Regions from separate parts of the Homo sapiens genome. Here region 2 is linked to region 1. The links are contacts of gene promoters, found by promoter capture Hi-C in human tissues and cell types (Jung and others, 2019). All regions are on one chromosome and are shown on one strand. Each heading gives the region's core, a stretch centred on a gene start or on the middle of the fragment in contact. The rest is flanking DNA. Distances are from core to core; before and after follow the strand shown. Region 1 holds the start of GRIA1 (glutamate ionotropic receptor AMPA type subunit 1). Region 2 has its middle 43 kb from the start of GRIA1.

What was found. Contacts are between HindIII fragments. The study calls those that stand out against the background at their distance.
Region 2: a fragment that was not itself captured here is called in contact with the fragment with the promoter of GRIA1 in region 1 in 3 of the 25 tissues and cell types used here (aorta, dorsolateral prefrontal cortex and hippocampus).

What each region holds. Positions count from the first base shown.
Region 1 is chr5:153,486,655-153,493,092 of GRCh38, reverse strand. GRIA1 (glutamate ionotropic receptor AMPA type subunit 1) reads right to left here and starts at 2,423. Exons shown (of 16, transcript NM_000827.4): 1 at 2,123-2,423. The coding sequence starts at 2,204. The HindIII fragment of the contact is 6,455 bases long and covers 1-5,896 here.
Region 2 is chr5:153,443,900-153,450,763 of GRCh38, reverse strand. No RefSeq gene overlaps it. Among named protein-coding and RNA genes, the nearest start is that of GRIA1, 43 kb to the left of the region's middle. RefSeq lists an enhancer at 181-1,041. The HindIII fragment of the contact is 3,143 bases long and covers 3,469-6,611 here.

The DNA.
Region 1 (6,438 bases), core at 1,174-3,673:
CTTACCTTTGTATTTACTGTCAACATGTAAATCAATTACATTTCTGTGAATTAAAATCAGCCATTTCTAGAGACTGAACTATAATGATGTTTACATAGAAGTTTATCTCAAATCTGACAGTAATCACAGTCCAAACATAATGCACTTCTAACTTCTTGTAGAGTGGGTGTCTGTTTTTAAGAACCAATAAATGGATTGCAAGCCTTTTGTTACAGATCACACAAATAGAATCAAGTACTACCTGATGGCAGTGATATTTTCAGCATTTTGTTCTACAATTTAATGCTTCAATCTCTTTTTTTTTTGAAAACAGTAGCAATGGCTTTATCAGTTGAACAACCAAGTTAGGGCTAAATATAATTTTAAAAATATGCAGAGATACATGAGAAAACATAGCACATACATGAAACATCCTCATGCATTTATACCATTTACTATATACACAAATATACTAGACAAACACTTCCAAGCCACAAAGGATAGGTAGTATATAAGCACAAATGTAAACAATGCCACATGTAAGAGCCAGTGATTTCCACATGTACAAGTGCTCCCATTTTAAAGAATGAAAACAAAAAAAATTCTTGATTATGATGCTCCCCCTTCCCCCCAGATGACCACACCCCAAACACTTCCCTGTCCCCTTTCTCCTCCTCTGCAATGAATGAAAGAGAAAGGATGGGAGGTTGAGGAGTAGAAGGCTACGGGCTGGGCTACAAGGGAAGTGTCTCCCCTGAAGGCAGGAAGTTTTGCGTGTTAGGCACTAACACACAGATACGTACACACTTCAGGATGTAGCTTAACAGGTGTCAGGAAACAAAGCAAGTTACTCCATGGCCACTCCAAGCCGCCAGCTAGCTGGAGAGGCTGAAAGAGATGGGTACTGCAGCACATGTATGCCCGACAAAATATCAATTGCACCACATCCCCCCTCAAACACACACTCACAAAAGAGCACAAACTCCCAGCAATGCGAACTTTCCCTAGTGGAGCTATCTCCCTACCAGGGGAGAGAGACTAGAAACCAAACCAACGAAGATGCTTCCAAACACAGCAGCTTGCTTCATTCCGGGACACAAACGACACTGACATGCTGGTCACACGGAAGCCCCAAGCCCTTGTGGACATGCTTTGTGATTGGTGTTATTGCTTCTGTTTGTTTTGCTTTCCCTCATGATTATCAGGAGTAGCAATATCTGTCAGTCCCCTCAGAAATACAGGGAGGGTGGCGGGGCCTTTGAGAAGTGTAACAACTAAGAAGGGGAAATGGGGAACAAAAAAAGCATGCAGCATGTTGAAACCTGCCTCCAAGTTGAGAGGATGGAGCCCAGTAACAAGGATAATGGAGAGCCAACAGGAGGAGAAAGGAGCATGTGTACGTGTGTGTGTTTGTGTGTGTAAAAGGTAGACCTCTGTGGATAGGAAATCTAAGAGGAGGGGGCAAGGAAGGAACGGAGAAAAGGCAGGCGAGGAAGTTCCAGGATCGGGGGAGTGGAGACCACCAGCGCAGCATGGCAGACAGCAAAGAGAAGGCAGCTGGAGGAGTCCAGAACAGGAGAGGGAGCCTACCCGCCTTGGAGTGGGGGCCTTCTGGCATTATTTCAGTGGCTGCAATATACCCAGCACCCCTCACTCCTTCTTCTCGAGGGTCTCTTTTCTGTCCCCCAGCAGAGAAAGCACTGCCTCCTTCAATTACATATATATGTGCATATGTAATATATAATCACACACGTGAAAACACACACACCATACATACTTACATTAAAAATGGAATCAAGCACCATCTACCAAGCAATAGAGTTAACTCCTTAAACACCCACCACCCTTTCCAGCCTGATTTTTTTTTTCCTCCAAAGCGATGGTTCCTCCATTTCACATGCTCTTGCCTGGAGTGCGAGTAGGGTATGTGTGCGTGTGTGAACACTTCCCCTCTGCCCCTCATCCGATCAGGAGAAGCCCCCTCCTCTGGCTGTAAGCCCAAGTCTCCCTTCTGTTACCGCAGCACAGCTTTAGGGAGCCAAGCAAAACAGTCAGTACCGGGGAGGGGGTACACAACCCCTATCCCCAAAAAAATCCCTGGCCAGACCCAGAAAGTCCCTCCCCAGGCTGCCCCCTCACTCACCGATCTGGATATTGTTGGGGAAATTGGCACCTACTACCGCGCCTAGGAAACCGGTGCAGAAGAAGGCAAAAATGTGCTGCATATTCCTTTTTGCATTGGCGAAAAAGAAGCCCAGGTCCAATCATAGATTTGGTGTTTCCCCCCCTTTCCCTTTATTCTTCTCGCTGTTCTGCCTGTTCTTTTCCTCCTGCAGTTCCTTCCTTGCTTGCTTGCTTCCTTCCTTTCGTGAGGTTTGTCTGTTTCCCTTGGAATCCGAACACTTAAACTGCAGCGTTAACACCAACTGACAGCCAGATTAACTGAGCACGGGAAAAGAAGCCCGTCCTCATGCTAGCTGGAGCGCTGGCTCCCCCACTCCCTCTCCTCTCCCCTCGCAGCCTGCCTCTCTCTCCCTCCCTTGCTCTCTCTCGCTCTCCCCCTCACACTCACACAGGCAGCAAGCTCTATGCTAATACCCACCGAGCTAGCTTGGAGTTCCACAGCCGACCTCCCTACCTGTTCCCCCTTCCTCCCATCCTCACCTTATCCTCCTTTCTGTGTGTGCAGAAAGGTGGAGGTGGGGGTGTGTGACACGTGGCACTTGGTCCTGAAAGGGGCAACCCCACAGTCCTCTTTACCCTCCCCTGCCTTTCTGAGCTCGGTCTGCCCGCTCCCCCAGCCCCCAGGCTGAAGCTGCTGGGAATGTGGGTTCAGCTGTAAGTCAGTAGGTGGCAGGGGGTCCCCACAATAGTCCTCAATCCACCAGCTGCTTGATCTAGGTCACTTTTTCTAGGAGTGCATGGGCTGCGCTGGATATATCTCCTGCACTCCACTGGCCCAATTATTCCTACAACTAATTCCTGAGGGAAAGACCCTAGAAATCCCTCCTAGGAAATTTAAAGGAAAAAAAAAAAAAAGCTTTCTCTCTCCTAATGGAAGGAATGACAGATAGACAAACAAGGGAGGATCTGGAGTGACTGGCAGGTATTTTGACCAGGTATTTGACAGTCCCTGTCTACCTTTACAAGTGAAACGGTGGTCTCTTTTCAATCCTAGGCATTTAAAATGGGCCCCCTTCTCTCTTTCCCTGCATTCCACAGGAGTCTATAGCATCAGAATCGTGTGGGTGTACAATAAAGACTAAGGATACTTACACAGAGCAATTACATGAGTCATTTTGCAGGGATTCTAGTGAGAGGATTCAAGCTTCTTTCAGGTCTTTCTGGATGCTGGTCATGTCTGGTGTAAGCTGGAACTTCATAGACTCTCCTAGACCAGGGCTTCTGCTGAAATAACCTGTAGAGAGATCAGCTGTGTTCAGGATAGTAGTGTTAAATGCAAAGCAGCAGCCACTAGCCGCCACAGAATACAGTTTTTGAAGGAACTTTACAGATTTTTATCCATCTATCTTCACTCCAAACCTGTAAAGTGGCCATGAGCCCTGTTTTACAGATGAAAAAGATAAGACTTCTGGGATTAAGTCATAAAGACACAGACCTACTAAGATGTACAGTACAACCTACAAACTTGAGTGCTTTGGCCGTTACCAGTTGACTTACTGCCCTGGCCAGGACTCCTGTCCAACAGGAGATGATCCAGGAAAAGGAAAGTCAACTTTGTCTTTAGTAAGAAAGAAATAATAGACTTTGGACTCCATTTTGCTTTGCCATATGAATAGGCCATTTTATCCACAGACTCTTCACTTCCCTCACCAGGACTGTATATCATGTGGACTTGAGTGACAGCTACAAGGACTGGGATTTGTAAAAAATATCTGACCATGTACAATGAAGCCCCAAAATAGGAACAACTTGGAGGTCAAATGCTTTGTGATTTCCTATGCACTTTCACATATATTAATTAATTAGCTAAAATAATTTTTAAGGCTAATGTTTATTCACTATTTTGAATGTGCCAGGTACCATGCTAAGAAATGCACCTGCATCATTTATTTGTACAATACCTGTGTAGGTAGCCTCATGCCCATTTTATAGATGAAGAAACAGAGGTCTAAAAACTCACCCCAAGTTTTCACTGCTAATGAAAGAGATTGGGCATTTAAACACAGTAAATGCCACCATCAGGCCCCAGCTCTTAACTCTTAGGCTCTAATAACAGCAAGCACTGGGTAGGAACCTTCTAAAGGAAGAATAAGCATCAGCATAGGAAGATGAGAGAACAGAATCAGGAAAGATCACTTCTAAGGTCTCTGCCAACATTAAGAGTCTCTGATTTAATGATTCCATCTTTTAATTTCTCCATTTTCAGTTTTTGTATCTTACTACTTTGAATAGTACCTGGGGATCTTTTAGGTTCCCTAAGCTTTGTGCCTGGTAATAATAATAATTAGGCTGTCATTAAAGGCTTCACACCTTGCAATCACCTTTTAGAGGAAGCTCTTTAGACCCTTTACAAGCAAAACCTCAATGTCCCCCTGCATTAGGTAAGATTTGTTTTGCATACTTTGTAGGGAGGGGACTTTTAAGGGAGTCAAAAAGATGAATTTTCCATGGTCATTATAAATCATATAGTCAAGCAGATCTTCCTAAAACAGAGGTCTACGTCATTGCCCTGCTCAAGTATGGTCAATAGCTCCCCTTGGTCTATTAAATACATAGTTGTTCACTGATTAAATATAGAACTTACATATTTCAAGTGTAGGCATCTAGGTCAAACTACATTAGGTTCAATGTTTATTCCATGTTTCTTTATAATTCTCTTCATTTCAAATGTTGGTGGGGAACCTATTCTGTATCTCACAGGGTGCCAGGTGCTGGGCAATATGAAGAGGAATCAGACACAGTCTCTGCCTCAAGGCAGGTGAATGTGGCAGAAGAAGAAGACAGACGAACCCGGACAACTGTCACCCAGAAAGACCATGACAAGTGCTCTAAAAGATGTAAACACAGCAGCGGGGGAGCAAAGAAGGATGCAATCAGTGTGTCTGTCTGTGGGGATCCAGCAAGGCTTCAAAAGAACTGAGCCGTGAAGGATGAGGAGATTATAGGCAGTAACTGAGGACTGGGAAGGACATGCAAACCAAGGAAAGAGCCCCAGCAAAGGCTGGGGGCAGGAAAGAATGCCACGTGCTCTGTTAGCCTGGAGCCGGCAGTGCATAACTGGGAAGAGTGTACTGGGGAACTTGGAACTTAGAGGAAGTCAGTGTCAGGATTTGGAACCCACTGAATTCCTGGTGGACCATGATGAGCCATGGGGGCATTTTTAGTATGCTAGTTACAATAGCGGGCATGTGCATGAGAAAGAAAAGATTGACCACTGGTAGAAGGTGATTTTCTCATTTCCTCATCCTCAAAGGTTAGAACTACCTACCAAACAGCTTCATTTCCCTAAATAACTTATTTGACGTCATCCTTTATTAGCTCATCATGCTGTCTCTCTTTAGAGTCCCCAGTCCTATTTGCCATTCCCAAAGTGGCAAAGTCTTCAAAGTGGCTACATGATTAGCTTAAGACAGTGGTTCTCAACTGACAGCAATTTTCTCCCCCAGGGGATATTTGGCAAAAATGTCCAGAGATGTTTTTTGTTCTCACAATTATGGAATTGTACCCCTGGAATCTCATGGGTGAAGGCCAGGGATGCCACTAAACATCCTACAATTCACAGAGCATCCACCCCACAAAAAAGAATTATCTGGTTCCAAATATAAATAGCATTGAGGCCAAAAAACCTTCCTTAAGGGGACTAGTGATTGGCATGCCAGGGACTGGGCACCAGGACCCTGCAGCGTCCCTCCCATTATATTACACTGAAGAAAAATTAAGTTGATTATCTTTTAAGACTTTTCATATTTTAAAGTGGGATATCTGAAGATGGGTGCTCATTAAAGTCCAGCAGTTAAGTATCTAATGGAGGAACTCCAGGTGGCTGACATCCCATTGGAAAAGCCTCCAAATGCTGCTCAAATTGTGCTCTAGAGACAGCATGGCACCTACTCCTCAAATTAATTATGACCCATCCCAGCTCATATTTTTGGCATACTTTAAGTCCTCTTACCATGTAGCCAAAACAGTCTAAGATTTACTTATTTTGGCTTTGTTTTGACACCGCAAATCAAGGAGAATGGTGTTGGACAGGGATTACAAATGCAAATGCTTCCTTGAGCCAGGCAGGGAAATGAATGAAGTGAGCCAAGTTGGGGAGAATGGGGAAGACAAACGGAACTAGAGAGACTGTGCCCTGTTAAAGGTGGCCACAGGGACTCAATAGGCAGCAGATTATTACCATGAGGAATTGTAGGCCTAGAGTGGCTAGATCCTCAGATTCTTTTCTCAAGGAAAAGTAGAAATATGGAATATATATATATATACACACACATA
Region 2 (6,864 bases), core at 3,791-6,290, 45 kb after region 1:
CCCCAGTCTCATTCCAGACACCAGACCAACTTAGACTGTGCCCCTCCCCCCCAAAAAAACTTGTCATCCCTACTATTTTCTGTCTAGTCATACTCCTATTCGCCGTTCTCAACTACTCATACATGCCCTGCTCTTGTTTACACTGCCAGTTTACACTGTTTCTCCAAGCCATCACAGCTGATATCTCCTGGTGCTATCCCCAACCTGCCACTCTTAACTCTTGAAGTAAATAAATAATCTTTGCTGGCAGGACTATGCCAAATCTCCTTAAGCACTCTCTAATCAGATATCCTGAGTCGTCCCAATTCTTAGACCTTTTATACCTGTTTTTCTCCTTCTGTTATTCCATTTAGTTTTTCAATTCATACAAAACCGTATCCAGGCCATCATCAATCATTCTATACGACAAATGTTTCTTCTAACATCCCCACAATATCACCCCTTACCACAAGACCTCCCTTCAGCTTAATCTCTCCCACTCTAGGTTCCCACGTCGCCCCTAATCCCGCTTGAAGCAGCCCTGAGAAACATCGCCCATTCTCTCTCCATACCACCCACCAAAAATTTTCGCCGCCCCAACAGTTCAACACTATTTTATTTTTCTTATTAATATAAGAAGGCAGGAATGTCAGGCCTCTGAGCCCAAGCCAAGCCATCGCATCCCCTGTGACTTGCACGTATATGCCCAGATGGCCTGAAGTAACTGAAGAATCACAAAAGAAGTGAATATGCCCTGCCCCACCTTAACTGATGGCATTCCACCACAAAAGAAGTCTAAATGGCCGGTCCTTGCCTTAACTGATGACATTACCTTGTGAAAGTCCTTTTCCTGGCTCATCCTGGCTCAAAAAGCACCCCCACTGAGCACCTTGCGACCCCCACTCCTGCCCACCAGAGAACAAACCCCCTTTGACTGTAATTTTCCTTTACCTACCCAAATCCTGTAAAACGGCCCCACCCTTATCTCCCTTCGCTGACTTTCTTTTTGGACTCAGCCCGCCTGCACCCAGGTGAAATAAACAGCCATGTTGCTCACACATAGCCTGTTTGGTGGTCTCTTCACACAGACGCGCATGAAAGGTACTGATAGCCTGCAGCATATGGCTAAAAATGACTATAAAGTCTGTCCTTACTGAGGGGATCATGATGACATCTATGGGTGAAAGCAGGAAAGGTAAGCCATCTCTTTTCCAATGTGGATCTCTGCAATCTGCACCCACCCAGGTTCTTCCCTTCTAACCTGCCTCTCTCCACAGCTGGGGCTATTTGACTTCCAGTTTCCTCCTCTGTAAAAGGGTGACAATAGTTCCTGTAGCATAGAATAATTGTGAAGTGCAAGAGAGCTAATGTGTATAAAGTGTTAACACACACACCTGGCCTATACTAAGGGCCCAATATTTGGTAGTTATCAAGTGTTTCCACAGCTTTACAAGATGAGATTTATTCCCATCTTTCAGGTAATTTAAAGATATTTAAAAAGGGTTCCAATTGACAATCACAACACCATACAGCTGTGAGTTACCAAATGAAGGTTTGTATCTAGATCTTTTCTGGCTCTGAACTCATGCCTTTTCTGCTATATCATTCTGCCTTCTAGTAACTGAAATCTGACTATTTAGATTATAGCCTTGGACCTAGGATCGAGTCACTTGCCTGTGATTTCTTGGATTATATGTCTGAATTCAGAAGCTTATCTGTTGCTGGAGCTCTCATTACTATTGATCCCTCTCCCCCAACTCCTCATATCTAAGCCTTCAGGGTTGACTTATGGGCTGGCCTAGGATCTGATGTCTGTCCCAATGACCTCAGGTACCCAACTCCTGCAAACAGACCTATCTTTCCAGCTGCTATGCCAGTCAGCAAATCTAGCTTACTCAGTCAGTGATTTTTTTTTTTTTATGGAGCCCTAACTATGTGCCAGGCATTATTCTATGCAAAAACAGTGAGCAAATGGTTACAGCCCATGCCCTAAATCTAATGTGAACAAAGTCACACAAATATCTAGCTATGAGCTTCGACAATCAATACAAAGGAAAAGTACAGGGTATAACAAGGGGATCTGACCCAGTTTGGGGTGTTAGTTTTTGAACCTCTTTCAAACCACATCTCTTTATTAGTATTTTGGGGATAAGAAAAGTTGTCACCTCATGCTGGTGTTATAAGGATTAAATGATGTGATTTTAAAGCACTAAGCACAGTGACTGGCACAAAGAACATTCACAAATGTTGCAATGGCTGCCAGTATTATGATTTTTATTATTCCATCTTTTATAGAATAAGCATTTATCTTGAGAACCAAAGAAGGTAGAGACTTTGGTCAGGAATTTCTCAGTTCTAACTTGCCTCTCTTTCCCTCTCCAGCTATAGTTAATTGGGCCGTGCATGGCTAAATCTCAATATATAAAATATGATACATTAACATCTAGTTAAAGAGCCAACTGAGGAAGTTTTTCAGTTGCTAGGAAGGTCATAGCTGACAGCAAAACTTGTCTCTGAACTCCCCATCTGAGGTTCTATTACACTACACATCTTGTTATACTTTCTCATTTTAGGATGATATCCCAATAAAAAACAAATTTTCACAAGTTGATAAAATAGCCTAACATGTAACAAACTAGACTCTAAATATGTAACAGCTTTAGGAATTTCTGTTTTTGCTACTTTTTTTTTGTTACATAACCAAAGGCTCAAGCGGCCCAGACTGTAATCAGCAACCCACGATATCCTTGATTTCATCAGTTGTTTGAAACCACAAGGTCCTCTCACCTGAATTTTCTCAGTAGGAATCCTATCGGGAAAGTCAATGACAGGTTGAGATGATTGGGCTCTGCAGATCTAAAATGCAATTTGATGCTTGTTTTTAATTCCTAGTATCAAAACCAAGCAGATCAGAAAACAAATGTGAAATGAGAAAGATAAAAGGATGCAGATTAAAAAGAGGGGGCCGGGACAGGAGGAGCTTGGAGCGGTAGCAATTGCCACAATTCAAAACGGCTGGCAGAGATACCATCTGCGGTGGTGGTAGCAGCGTTTCCCAGATTCCTTTGCAAACTTACCAGATAAACATACACGTGGGCCTCGCCTGAAGTGACGGATCATGGACTCTCTAATAGGCAAAAGAATCAAAGCTTTCAATGAGACTTGCTTATTCAAAGGGAAGGAGTATCAATTTTTATTCCTTGCAGCAGCCTGAGATCCCATTCTTCTTTATCATCTCTGTACTTAGGGAGGATGAATAAGACATCCAACTAAATGCAAACTGTCACACTGTACACTGTGCGAGCTCCTTGCCTGCTACTGGTGTCTACCAGGTGTTATTAAAATCTGCAGCCTACTCTGCCTCAAGTCTTGCTGTTGTTCCATAGATGCTCAAGTAGTTTTGTACCCTAAACAGAGCAAACATGGCTTTGTCAGTGGATTCTTTACTGTTTGTTCATTAGCTTGTTCGTTCATTCCTTCATTCACCTAGCTGTTGAGCGTCTACTTTTGCCAGGCACAATTTTTAGCACAGAGAAGTATAGAATACAAGAGACAAAGCCATTGCTCCATTGCCCTCATGGAGCTTACATTTTATTGGTCTTGGACCATTTATGAATCTTACATTTATTGAACACCTTTTATCTGCTAGGATTTATACCAGCTGCTGGGAGAACAAAAATGAGTGAGAACATGTACCCTGCCATCTAGTGATACCAAAAACTCAAGCAGAAAATTGTATTAGTAAGTGGCAGGGACAGTATTAGATAGAGGTCTAAGAGAGGATAATTAAATTAGAATATGTATAAAAAATATATATATAAAATAAAGCTTCTCAAAAGGACTTGGATTCATTTTTCTGTTTTTAGTTATTTATTCATGCAATAAATAGTTGAATACCTCAAAATGCTTAGAAGAGTAACAGGCACACAAAAAACGTAGATAAATGTTAGTCCTTGCTGTTATCCATATTATCTTTAGCCAGGCATGGTATTAGGCACATGGTAATATAAGGAAGCTTAAGGCAGCTTAACCTATAAGGAAAATGAGACCTGGAAAATTAAGTAACTTTTTCAAGCTGGAAGTAGAATGCAAATCTCCAGACACCTAGTCTGGTTCCTTTCCAATACGATGCTGTTTCACATACTACGAACATAGAAGTGGAATTCATTGTAGAGGTCTCTATTTTTAAAAATGAATAATGAGTTTTTAACACACTTTTTGTAGACAGGCTCAGGGAAAAAATGTGCCTGAATTCATCCTTTCTCAGCTGTATCAGACCCAGAAAATTCTCCTGGAGTAATGCTCAGGGCGAGAAAGCTTAGGATTGTGTCACCATCTGTTCTAAGTAAATATCACCACTGGCCTTGATTTAGCATTTTCTTTTCCTGGGATCTCCATGTTCGGGTTTAGAGAAGGATACCAGGACACAGGGCAGTCAGCCAAGGTCAACTGGGGAAGAGCTAAAGAAAAAAATCAATCCCATCCACAGTCTCTCATGAAACCACAGAGCCTGTTGAACACACAGGCACTTGGGTTTGGAAAGACCCTAGAGAACACAATTCCTCAATTCCTGCTGCAGAGAAATACAGTTTGGATATTTAAATCCAGGCATCTCTTGCCCGTGGGCTATGTTTCCAAAGGCAAATATTGTCGAAGGAATCATTTCGTCATGCTGTGCCGTGGGTGGCAGCAGGCTGAGGGCACTGGGAACAGAGCCAAGACTGGGGAATATAGCACAAGGGAGACGTGGGTTGTAGGGTGTGGAGGAGTGATGGGGTCAGAAGCCAGGCAGTTAAGTCACAAATGTTACAGGGTAGAGCAATGTAGGATGGCCAGAGCTCATGCAAATGTGAACCCACCGGAAGTGAAGTCTGCAAAGTTTGGTGGCGCTAGAGAACCCAGAAACTGAGCTACACCAAGCAAACAGCTACATGTTGCCAGCAGCAAGAAAAGGATCATAACATGGAGATGATTTCTGATTCAATCTCACCTGCCTTCCATCGCTTTTTGTTTTGTTGAAAGCCAATTGTAAGCAAGCTGGCCAAAAGCCTCTAGGATGTGACCTTTTAGTTGTCACTGGGTTACGTTTTCACGCAGAGGTGGGGCACAGAGAGAACTCTGGCTGCAAGCTTACTTACGATGTTCAGCCTTGATGAAAAACTCACAAGGAATAAGCTCTTAGTAAGAAATGGAAAAAGAGCATTTATTCATTCAAGTATTTGTTCAGTACCTACTATGTGCCAAACACTGTTCAGTACTGAAAATAACACTGGCAGAGAAAGGCAGTCATACATAGTCTCTGCCCTCTCATAGTTTACAAACTGGTTTGGGAGAACAGATGAAAATCAAAGAAGTGCAAAGAGATAGAGAAAGAGAAAGATTGCTGCAGAATGTGCTCCAAAAGAGAAGTACCCAGTGCTGTCAACAGAAAATGAACTATTCAAGGTGGTCAAGGAAAGCCTTCTGAGGAAGTGACAATTTGAAGTTTGCAGAAAGAAACTAGGATGAGGTAGGGAAGAAGGACACCCTAGTTCTTCCGCTAATGGGCTTTGGCAGGAGGGGTATGGTGAGAATAAATGCCTAGTTTATTTCAAAATTTAAGTTTTATGGTTAACTAATCAATTTATAAAGCAGTTTACATCTGGCAGTAGAACCCACTGAACCTACTGAATTTTCTCAGTAGAAATCCTATCGGGAAAGTCAATGGCAGGCTGAGATGCTAGATGATGTATGCTAGATGTGCAGAGCCCAAGTTTAGAAGTTACAGATTCTGTCCTCAAGAAGACACATTGAAAAGAGGTGTAAATTTACCTAAAGTTTCTATTGAATTCTTCCTCTGTGCTAGAATCTTTACATTTGCTATTTAACATCTAGAGGTAGCTACTTTTTCCCCATTCAACAGATGGGAAACTGAGGTTCAGATATATAACTCACAGACCTCAGCCTGCTAGCTACATATCTGTCTGATTGCCAAGCTCATGCACTTTTCATGTAACAAAATGCCTCTTATCAGAACCCTCTATGAAAACTTACCAGAAAGATTTTGGGTGCCAACTGCTTTTTCCCCTTCAGCAGAGCTCTATTTAGATCTGAACTATGGATGTGTGTAACTGTGCAACTGCACATATATACAGTTTAAAACGTTCACCTTTTAGTAGTATACACTAAAGGTATACATAAACTCACTCTCTCTCTCTCTGTCTCTCTGTCTCTGTCTCTCTCTCTCTCTCTCTCTCTCTCTCTCTCTCTCAGGGTACTAATATGCAAAAGGTCCAGATATAAAAAGGGGCCCTCAGTCCTTAGCCATAGGAACATAAATTCAATCTTTCTTCATTGGCTCAGACTGCCCTTCAGGATCTTTAAAATGTGCAGGTCATCATTATGCACATCAGTTATCACAGTATGGTAACTGGCTTGATGTGCTGCTTAATGAAGTGTTACCAAGTCATAAAATGCCAATATTTAAAAACCACCAAGGTCTTTAATTATCATTTCAATCTAGGGTTTGTCAAACTATGTCCTATAAGAAATAGTTCTACATTAGGTTAAGATGTGAACCAGAGGAGGGAAAAAACATATGTGTGTATATTTTTATTTATATACATTATATATATTTATATGATTATTTAGTGCTATATATGTATATATTATATATAATAACATAAATATATATTATATAATACATAATATATTATTATATATCACTGTATCATATACTTTTTCCTCAAATAAATTCAAGAAATATTTTGTTTTAGTTTACACCATCATGGATCTTCTCAGAGCCTATAATACAAAAATGGGAAAGTGATCCCATGATGGGAGTAAGAATAAACAGGTTTTGGCCGGGCGCGGTGGCTCACGCCTGTAATCCCAGCACTTTGGGAG